2 separate regions of the Homo sapiens genome follow, and region 2 is linked to region 1. Evidence: promoter capture Hi-C in human tissues and cell types (Jung and others, 2019). All regions are on one chromosome and are shown on one strand. The core of a region is centred on a gene start or on the middle of the fragment in contact, and the rest is flanking DNA. Distances in the headings are between cores, read along the strand shown.

Region 1 (5,539 bases), core at 1,652-4,151:
GACGAGGGTGTCCCTGGAGCCGTAGTGCTCTTGGCGGGACTGATGCTGGTTGCAGGAGCGAGGCTAGTCACCTTAACCTGGAGATGTAGCACAGAGTACACAGTAGCCCAGCTTTTGCACAAAAGGGACTTAACTTTGGACTCTGGGAACCTCAGTGATGGATTTCAAACCAGCAAAGAGTCACTGTGGAGGAGGAGGAGGGAAGGATAGCAGAAAGACTGTGCAAAAAGGGGACCTGACAGAGCATCAGGTCCAGCATGTCCATCCTATGGATGAAGAAACTGGGGCCCAGAGAGGAGAGGGATGAGGATCAAAGAGCCAGCAGGTGGTCAAGGCAGAGACGAAACCTGCTCTCCCGATTTCCCAGGCCGGCACTCTTCCCCTGCTCCACACCGACCAGGCTCACGCACAATTGAGTAGGGGCTTCTGGGCTTGCACCCCACGCTGCTGCAGTGAAGGCCAAGAGGACCTGGGAAAGAACTTCAGACTGGAGGACAGTTTCAGAAAAGAGATGGGGGATGTGGCACTTTTATTTCCTAGAGAATATGATGAGGACATTGCGAACCCCTCCCCCAGTGAGACATAGCTTTGGCAGGGGGAGGCAAGTATGAGTTTTGAAGAAGGAGAAGTCCCAGGTTTGTGTCCTGTTTCTTAGTATCATCTAAGTGACAAGTCCCTATGGAGGGATAAGAATTTCCACCTCACAGAGAAAGAGGTGGAGGCTGGAGACACCCGCACTTTGGGGCAGATGGGAGGGCCCTGGCCTCTGACTCCCAGTGTCATGCAGGGAATGTAGTTGGTCTGCTGTGTCCCTCACCTCGGGGAGTTGGTCCCCATAATCTGTGAGCTCCTCATAGTTGCTCAGGTCAATGACTTCACCATAGTTGTCTGGGTTCAGGACATCATTCCGCAGAGGCAGAACTTCAAAGGAATCGCCTTCCCTGGGCATCTGCTCCTCTCTCCTCTTCCTCTCCTTCCTTGGGAGAGAAGCTGTCCCTGTCTCCTGCAGCACCAAGGCCAGCAGACTCAGGAAAGCCAGGAGCCTCATGGGGAGTCAGATGGGACTGAGAATCCCTTCAGCGGCTGGTCCTGGCAAGTGGGCACGAGGAAGGGCAGCGATCTGAGGGACAGGCTCTCCAGAGTGTTGTGGGAATGGCTCGCAGATTTACTCCACTTCCCACCCCCACACTTGCAGACTCAGTGCTCTCATCACATGCACAAATTCCCTACCAGCTGGGACTATGTCTTGGGGGGTATCTCCTAGCAGCCCCCTCCCTCCACCGCCCCACTTGAGTGTTTTTACACGCTCACCCAAACACTGATATTCACTCACAGAGGCATGTGCAGACACATCTCAACACAGACACATTCACAAGAGTCCCCTTGTTTACAAACGAGGCACACACTGGTGCATGCACACAGATGTCCTCTCTTAAACAACCCCATGCTCAGAACATGACTGCTAGTCACTAAGCTCGATTTAGAGAATGTCAACATCAAATAATCTTATGGGGTCTTTTTGTTTGTTTGTTTTTTTGAGACGAAGTTTCATTCTTGTTTCCCGGGCTGGAGTGCAGTGGTGCGATCTTGGCTCACTGCAACCTCCGCCTTCTGGGTTCAAGCGAATCTCCTGCCTCAGCCTCCTGAGTAGCTGGGATTACAGGCACCCACCATGCCTGGCTAATTTTTGTATTTTTAGTAGAGAAGGGGTTTCACCATATTGGCCAGGCTGGTGTCGAACTCCTGACCTTAGGTGATCCACCCACCCTGGCTTCCCAAAGTGCTGGAATTACAGGTGTGAGCCACCGCGCCCAGTTGACTCTTGTGGTTTTTTATAAAGATCATCCATTCATGCATTTGCTCAACAAACATTTATGGGTGTCTATTGAGTTCCAGGCACAGGACTTGTCTCTGTGGGTACAGAATGAATGAGGCACAGCCCTTCCTAGGAGCACCTAGTCTCTTTAGGAGACATGGACTTACAATGAAACATACAATGTAAAAAAGAATGTTAGTTTATGAAATATACTTCTAAATGCAGCTTTTTAGAAACAGATTATTACAGATAAAAGAGTTCTTTGTGTGTGATTGCATGAGTGTGTACGCATCTGGAAATTTCCTTAGATACCTGTGTATATTTGTGTGTGTGTGCACACAGATGCCTGCGTATGTATGTGATATGCATGTGAGTACAAATGTTCATGTAGTTCGTATATGTATAGACGGGTCAGGAAATGCATGTGGTGTGGTTTTGTATCCAGGCATAAGTGTATACAACAGTCATACCCAGTGTAGGCTTAACACAGCCCTCCCCAAAGCTAGCTGCACAAGTTTCTAGTAGACTCTCCCTCTTTCTTTCTTTTAAAATTTTTTTTATCTTTTAATTTTTATTTTATTTTCTATTTTTAAGACGGTGTCACTCTGTTGCCCAGCCTGGAGTGTTATGGCATGATCTCAGCTCACTGAAGCCTTAACCTCCTGGGCTCAGGCAGTCCTCCTGCCTCAGCCTCCCAAGTAGCTGGGACTACAGGCGTGTGTTACCATGCCCAGTTAACCTCCCCACCCTTTCTTAATTTTAGCTGGGCAAGGGGGCAAGCCTCTAGCAGTAGCAAGAGGTGTTTCTTCACCTTACCTCCCATACCTCACCCCAAACGAATTACATAATCTCAAAAAAAATTTTTCTAAGAGAGTTTAGTGCCCACCCAAAAGTCTTGTCCAACTTCTTTGGCCAGAGGCCTAAACTCTCTTCATTTTCCCTTCCCAATCCCCTGCCCCAGCCAAACACTTTGCCCTCATTTGCGCACCGATGGCCAGAGGCCTCAACCTTGAGCCTTACCCCTTCAATGCTTCTGGATCCTGGATGGAGAGCCCTGCAGCTTCCAGAAAGGTGGGGACTCTGGTGGAGGCTGTCTGAACTGGGGCTTGGGTTAGACAGTGGTGCCCGGGGGAGGGCAAGGAGTTGGCCAGGCCTGCGACCAATCAGACTTCTCATTCCTTCTGATGTCCAGCTGTTTCCCCTCCTCTTTCCTCAGGGGGTCCCCTGCCCCATTCCTGTATTTGACAAAAGAGAATTCTCCCCCCACCTTCCGCTTCACCCCCCACCTCCAGCTCCTGCTCTCTCTCCTCTTACTCTGTCAGCTCCTTCTTTCTTTTCCTTGTCCACTCTCCTGATAAGGCCACATCTTTGAGGAACAGGGAGTGCCATCCCCTGCAAGGAAGGGGCCCCATCCCTCAGATTCTGAGTCCTCAGAGAAGGCTGGAGTCGGGGGATATGGAGAGATAGAGCTTGTCTTTGCAGCTTCTTTCTCCAGCCAGAGAGTGACAAGGCTTCAGCTTCATAGCCAGAATCCAAAGATAAAAATAGGTGGAAATGAGGCACTTCACCCTCACCTAGAGCGCCAGCACAGAGACCATAATTGAATAAAATCACCAGAGACAGGAGCTGCAGGCCTAGGTAGTTCAAAGAGAAGGTGTATGGGGGATGAGATCGGATTTGAAAGCCAACTTCAAGTTCACAGATGATGATCATGAGGATACGGGAAATTCTCTAAATCTGCTAGGAGGAAACCAAATGGAAATTGGGAGGTGGGCCCTAGAAAGGATCATAAACACCAGTAGACATTGTGTAGGGTCTCGGGGGCCTGGGAAGTATCCTCTCCCGCACCCTCAGAGATGTACAGTCGTCCCTCAGTAACCATGGGGGATTGGTTCTGCACGTCCAGTGGATACCAAATCCACATATGCTGAGGTCTTTTATATAAAATGGTGAATTTGCACATAACCTACGCACATCCTCCTGTGTACTTCAAATCATCTCTAGATTACCTATAACACCAAACACAATGCTTACACCTCACTCCATTCACATGGATTCCACATAGTACTGGCACACAGCAAATTCAAGTTTTCCTTTTTGGAACGTTGTGAATTTTTTTTTTTTCTGAATATTTTCAATCTGTGGTTGGTTGAATCCACGGATGTGGAACCCACAGATACAGAGGGCCAACGGCATTCATCTGGAAACACTCCCCTTTCCTTGGTGCCTCGAGCAGGCTGCCGAGCAAGTCCTTGCTGAAGGCAGAGGTGGGGTGGCTAAGGAGTCTTCCCCAGCTTCTGCCAGCCTGTGCCCTGGCGCCCACCCAGGTTTCTCAGTGACTCTCCTTGTTCCCTACTCCTTTCCACCAACCAGATACTGAATTCCAGCTGTGAGGCCCCCTAAAGATCTAGTCCAAGTCCTTGTGGTATAGATGAGGAGAGTGAGGCCCAAAGAGGTGACGTGACTTGCCCTAGGTCACACAGAGCCAGGGCCAATGCCTAGATTTTTTGACTCCCTGGTCAGAGAGTTTTCTTTAGTTCATATGACCCTCCCCATTTCCACCTTCTTCCCCAGGAGTCCTGAATCCGTGTGTTTCCAGGCCCTCAGAGCAGATGGCTTGGCAGAACTCATCTCTGCCCTGGCACACCAGGTGAAGAGGCAGATCTAATAGCCTGGCCCTCGAGGGCAGCATTTGGCTTGCTGTGTTCCTGGGCTCCAGCTGGTGCAAGAGGGGGCTTCCCTCAGCCCAAGAGCCTGGTCACCAGAGAAGAGCATGTTCTTGTACCCCTGGCAGCCCCCCACCTGGGAAAAGACACCATCAGAGGCTCTGCTGGGTGGAGGGAAAGATAGCCCTGGATCCTGGAGGGCATCCAGTAGGCAGATGGCACATTTGGCGGGCTGTATGCCTCCATCTTCTCTCCACAGCCTGGGCTTTGCAGCCAGAGGCCCTCCACCCCCACAGCCAGCCTAGGCAATCTCCCCGCTCCCACCCCACACATTTATTCCTGGGAGAAATGCAAATGCGAGTGTTCATTCACTCTCCCTGCCGCCTGCTCCCACTCTCCCTCCCTGCTTTCCCAGAGACATACGCTCCTGCCATCCCTGCTTGGTTGCCACACCCCCACCATCGTTCCTCCCCAATGCATACACACCTGCTCCCCCCACTCCCTGCAGGAGCCACATCCAGACTCAGGCTCGCATCCTAGACCCTCTCCCAACTTCTCCTCTTGCTTTCCCAAGCTCACAGGTCACACACTCTTGTTCTCATGAATATTAGGGGCTGTCCATGGATGTGTACATGTGACCTGGTGGGGGAAACGGCTAACCCCGCAGACTGCTGTTCCAGGCAGCCCAGCTCCCCAAGAGCCTGGCAAAGGAAGCAGGAGGCGGGGGAGGCGTCCTAATCCTAATCTCTCATTAGGAGAGGCAAAAGGCGTGTTGATGAATCGGAGGCGGCAGGTGGTATGGACAGAAGTTTGACCAGCCAACCCTGTTGTTGCCCTTTTCATGGATAGGGAGAGAGAGGCGGGGAAGTTCAGGAACCCTCCTGTGTTTTGGATGACAGGGGTATATCCCCTGCTGAGGGCTTGTAGCCACATAACTCCACTCCATGACCGGAACATGACCCTCTCCTCTTTTTCAGACACACAAGCCCCACAGGGTAGACTCCACACCTTCCTACCTTTGTACTCATGCTGTTTCCTGTCCAGGTGGCGTCTTTTT
Region 2 (5,539 bases), core at 1,603-4,102, 55 kb after region 1:
CAGCCCTTCACCTTAGCCTCTGTGGCTCCTTGGCCTCCGTTCCCTTTGCCTCTGCTCTCCATGCCTCTGCCTAGAGCAGGGACCGTCTCTGGAGACAGTGAGTGGGTCCTGAAGGTGGAAGAATTTCACAGGATGCCCCAGCCCCAATCTGGGCATTTAGACTAATCTCAGAAGAGTTGAATTCTGTTCTTAAAGTTGCACTGGGCAAGATACGCCCATGAGAAGGGGGTGGGTGTCTGCCTGATTTGGCAGAGGATGACACAGGGACCCAGGGCTGACCTGAGGACGAGTGTACCACGCTGTCAGGCAAAAACCCAGAGAGCCCAGGTCACATGTCAGAGAAAGGGCTTTAACATGGGATTCTTACACCATGGAGCCCAAGGCTCACCTCCATGCAAGGGAAGGAACAACACCCTATGGGGACAAAGGCTTCTGAGCCCTTTAGTTAATGGGACAAAAGCCTTCAGGAGGAGTGAGATCACGGCCTGCTTTCTGTCCACCGTGGGGCACCCGTGCACTTCAAGGAAGGCCCAGGAGGAGCTGCCAGCACAGCTCTGTCCAGGGTGAGGAGTGAGTGGCTTGCAGAGGAGCCACTCCACGATGCCCTGGCAAGCCCCTGTCACATTCCAGAGCACAGAGGACCACGAACTCCCAGCTTGGCTCAAGGCATGCGGGGCTGGCACACAGCCCAGGCATTTCCTCCCCTCCCATCCCTCTTTCTCATTCTCTTTCTGCATCCTGGTGCTAAAGGTTCTGCTGGAGCTTCCGTCTCTCTTCTCTGCAGAGGGAGAATAGGGAAAGGAGTGGGTGTCAGCTGGGAGAAATTTCCACTCAGTTTAATGTTGCTGGAAATCCAGACATCTCTAAAATATGGGCTGAGGACCCCCACGTGCCCAGCACTGTGCCAGCCAGCCCCAGAATGCAGAGATGAAGAAGAGCTGTCTATTGAGGACAGAGGAGACTGCTTATGGATGTGTCCTTGACAGCCACCTTGGCTGGGCACGTGGAAGAGATCACAGGAGGCAATGTCAGTGAGGGTTGTGCACCACTGCACCCTGCAAGCTGCCTGAGGGTGGGCCCACCTAGCACAGTGCCTGGCCTGCTGGAGGAGCTCAGTACACATTTGTTGAGTGAATTAGTGGAATGAGGTAGTTTAGGAAGGCTTTCTGGAGGAAAGAAAATCTGAACAGGGCCCAGAGAGGATGGGTGGAATTTGACCAGGCCAAGTAGAAAGGAATGTATCCTGTGCGGCAGAGAGCCCTAAAAGGAGAGGTAAGGAAGGGGACAGTCCACAGTAGGCTGTTCTAGACAGGAGCATGGGGAACAGCTCCTTTGTTACTCTCAGGATAAAGCCAGGCCCCCCGGTTCACTCGCAAGATCCTTCTCATCTGGCTCTGCCCACCCTTCATTACTGCCTCTTCCCACAGCACCCTGGTCCTCTATTCCAGCTGACTCAAGCATTTATTTGCAATCCATGGGACAAGACCCTTGCTCTCTCTCCTCCAGGCCTGTGAACAACTCTCCTCCCCTCTGCCAGGAAGGCCTCCACCTGTACCTCTCCCTGTCTCTCCAGCTCCTCCTGACACCATTGATCTCTCCTGACACCAGTGGTCTCTCCTGCGAGGACCTCACCTTCTGAAGTCAGGTTGGTCACTGTTCCTAAGTGCAACATGCCTCTCTCTGCTTGCCGCATGCTCATGCCATCCCCATGAATTGTTATTCCTGGTCTGTCTCCCCCTAGACAGGTCCTAGACTGAACCATGGTCATGGTCCTAGACTGGTCATGTTCCAGTGCACCAGATTCCCCACTCCGAGATGATCGATTACAGTCAGAGACAATTAACTACGGCTTCAGCAATGTGTGAGAGGCAGCCAGCATCAAGGGAGGCAAAGCACAGCCGTCAAAACAGAGATCACACAGTCCCAAACAGCCTCGACCCTGGCTCACATAAACTTTCCCGTCTCTAAGTGGGAGAGGCAGGCTGATGCAGCCATGGCTTTCAAAGCTTTTCCATAAGATGTTAGTGATTTCTGATCACACTTGGCAAACATCCTTTGTGGGTGTGGATTTCTGATTAGCCTGTAAATTCCTTGGAGCTGAAGAATCAAGTCCAATTCTCCTTTGTATTATCAGTTAAACATCACACCGGGCACATGGGAGGCTTAATAAAGAATTATTTCTTTATTTGGTTAACTACTTATTCATTGATCAAACTCACTTAAGGCAATGTCATTATAATTTCCAGTCTTGACTTCAATCTTGAACAGGCTGCAGGAACGGTTCTCACACCTAGAGCTTATGCCCAGAAGATTACATAATACCAGCAGTAGGAAATGAGAAGCTACAGTAGTAAATGGGAAGTCAGTTTCCAGCTAAATTCCATATGCTCAGAGGTGGAAAAGGCTTTAGAGAGCATCTAGCCCCCACCCTCACTTTATAAGATGGGAAACTGAGACTGTGATATGGAAATTATTTGTCCAAGGTCACAGGACATCATTTACTTGTTGGATCCAGTTGTTTGACCTTGGTCTTTGAGGTTCAGTCTTCTCTCCATTATACCATTTCAGCTTCCTCTACCACCAGTAAGAATCCTCCAACTGCCCATTCCCAAGAAGGAGCCTGGTAGAAAGACCATGGATATTTGTGTCAAACCTGAGTTCAAATCCTGATTCTGCTACTTAATTGCCATTCAACTAAGAGAGCCTTGTATATTACTCAAATTACCCACTTGTGAAACAGAGAAATAGCACCTACTTTGGAGGGCTGGAGTGTGAATTACAGATGGGATAATGTCTGCAGCGTGCCCAGCCCTGTGCTTGATATGGTGGCTCTCAATAAATGTCAGTTCTGCCCCTTCCTCTGGTTCTTAGAGTTGTTTTGCCTTCTCTGTCTTTTCCCTCTTAGAAAATCTTAAGGTCTACTTAGAAGGGCCTCTCAGAGGTCTTTTGGCCCACTTCCCTGCATGTATTTAGGGCTGACCCCTCTCTTCCCTCTAAAGCATTTCATCCTATCCTGGAACTTCTAAAGAAGGCATTTCACTGTATAACTCAGGCTAGTGGATAAAAGTTAGGTAGGGCCTCTCTTCTTCCTCCCATCTAGCCCAATACTTCCTACTGCAATTTAGGAATGAAGTTATTTTCTCTGTTTTGCTTTCCAGGAGGATGCAAAAATATTTTTTTCCTTCTTCCCTTCTTTTTCCACCATATCTGTTTATTTTTTCTTCAATATCCTGATTTCTCCTCCTTTTCTCCTTCCCCTGGGCTTTTAGAACTACCCCCACCCCTCTCTCTGTGCCCCTGTCCCTGTCTTTTCTTTTCAGATGGGCAGCGGACTGATGATATCCCGCATATTAGGGTGGCCCCTCCCACATCCCATTCCCGCCCAGACATCTCAGCCCTGCTCAATGCCCGCCTCTGGCGGAGACCTTATCTCTGCCCACCACACCGCAGCTCCAGCTGCCGTCCTGGGCAGACTGAAACCAAACAGCTAGGGTGAGTCTGTATTGGATCCTGATGGCTGGCTGACCCAGCTGCCTGCTCCCGGGAGAAGTAGGATGAGGGGACAGGTGGAAGTTGAGGCCGCCTTCCTAGCTCCTCTGACAAATGCCAAAGGGACCTGTAGAGCCTCCTGCCATTCCACAGGGTGGGTGCTACTAGCTCTCCTTCTCCCAGACCCCTCTCCTTGACTGTGCTGGCCTCATTGCCAGAAAAATTCCAGGGCAGGTGGAGGCAATCTGCCTGGAAAACAAACCCGGTGCCAAGCCACTGCAGGATGGGCCAAAGGATTTCGGTGGAATCCCAAAACTCGCAGCGCGGACCGAATCTTGTAAATCAGGAGGGGCTTGTTGCTCTAAGCGGCCTGACCTTTCTTTTCTTCTTCTTCTTCTTCTTCTTTTTTTTTTTTTTTTAATTATACTTCAAGTTCTAGGGTACATGTGCACAACATGCAGGTTAGTTACATATGTATATATGTGCCATGTTGGTGTGCTGCATCCATTAACTCATCATTTACATTAGGTATATCTCCTAATGCTATCCCTCCCCGCTCCCCTCACCCCACGACAGGCCCCGGTGTGTGATGTTCCCCACCCTGTGTCCATGTGTTCTCATTGTTCAATTCCCACCTATGAATGAGAACCCGAGGTATTTGGTTTTCTGTCCTTGCAATAGCTTGCTCAGAATGATGGTTTCCAGCTTCATCCATGTCCCTTCAAAGGATATGAACTAATCCTTTTTATGGCTGCATAGTATTCCATGGTGGATATGTGTCACATTTTCTTAATCCAGTCTATCATTGATGGACATTTGGGTTGGTTCTAAGTCTTTGCTATTGTGAATAGTGCCTCAATAAATATATGTGTGCATGTGTCTTTATAGCAGCATGATTTATAGTCCTTTGGGTATATACCCAGTAATGGCATCGCTGGGTCAAATGGTATTTCTAGTTCTAGATCCCTGAGGAATCGCCTCACTGTCTTCCACAATGGTTGAACTAGTTTGCAGTCCCACCAATAGTGTAAAAGTATTCCTATTTCTCCACATCCTCTCCAGCACCTGTTGTTTCCTGACTTTTTAATGATCGCCATTCTAACTGGTGTGAGATGGTATCTCATTGTGGTTTTGATTTGCATTTCTCTGATGGCTAGTGATGATGAGCATTTTTTCATGTGTCTGTTGGCTGCATAAATGTCTTCTTCTGAGAAGTGTCTGTTCATATCCTTTGCCCACTTTTTGAATGGGTTGTTTGATTTTTTCTTGTAAATTTGTTGAAGTTCTTCGTAGATTCTGGATATTAGCCCTTTGTCAGATGGGTAGATTGCAAAAATTTTCTCCCATTCAGTAGGTTGCCTATTCACTCTGATGGTAGTTTATTTTGCTGTGCAGAAGCTCTTAATTAGATCCCATGTGTAAATTTTGGCTTTTTTTTGCCACTGCTTTTGGTGTTTTAGACATGAAGTCCTTGCCCATGCCTATGTCCTGAATGGTACTGCCTAGGTTTTCTTCTAGGGTTTTTACGGTTTTAGGTCTAACATGTAAGTCTTTAATCCATCTTGATTAATTTTTGTATAAGGTGTAAGGAAGGGATCCAGTTTCAGCTTTCTACATATGGGTAGCCAGTTTTCCCAGCACCATTTATTAAATGGGGAATCCTTTCCCCATTTTTTGTTTTTGTCAGGTTTGTCAAAGGTCAAATGGCTGTAGATGTGTGGTATTATTTCTGAGGGCTCTATTCTGTTCCATTGGTCTATATCTCTGTTTTGGTACCAGTACCATGCTGTTTTGGTTACTGTAGCCTTGTAGTATAGTTTGAAGCCAGGTAGCATGATGCCTCCAGCTTTGTTCTTTTGGCTTAGGATTGTCTTGGCAATGCAGGCTCTTTTTTGGTTCCATATGAACTTTACAGTAGTTTTTTCCAACTCTGTGAAGAAAGTCATTGGTAGCTTGATATGGATGACACTGAATCTGTAAATTAGCTTGGGCAGTATGGCCATTTTCACGATATTGATTCTTCCTATTCATGAGCATGGAATGTTCTTCC

What was found. The method cuts DNA at HindIII sites, captures the fragments that hold promoters and counts their contacts. A contact is called where the count stands out against the background at its distance.
Region 2: a contact is called between a fragment that was not itself captured here and the fragment with the promoter of OPTC in region 1, in 1 of the 25 tissues and cell types used here (IMR-90 fibroblasts).

Annotation. Positions count from the first base shown.
Region 1 is chr1:203,491,515-203,497,053 of GRCh38, reverse strand. OPTC (opticin) reads right to left here and starts at 2,901. Exons shown (of 8, transcript NM_014359.4): 1 at 2,837-2,901; 2 at 818-1,089; 3 at 1-77. The coding sequence starts at 1,048. RefSeq lists a silencer at 3,180-3,408 and an enhancer at 4,796-5,539. The HindIII fragment of the contact is 22,199 bases long and covers 1-5,539 here.
Region 2 is chr1:203,436,013-203,441,551 of GRCh38, reverse strand. No RefSeq gene overlaps it. Among named protein-coding and RNA genes, the nearest start is that of BMNCR, 31 kb to the right of the region's middle. RefSeq lists an enhancer at 404-613. The HindIII fragment of the contact is 7,865 bases long and covers 1-5,539 here.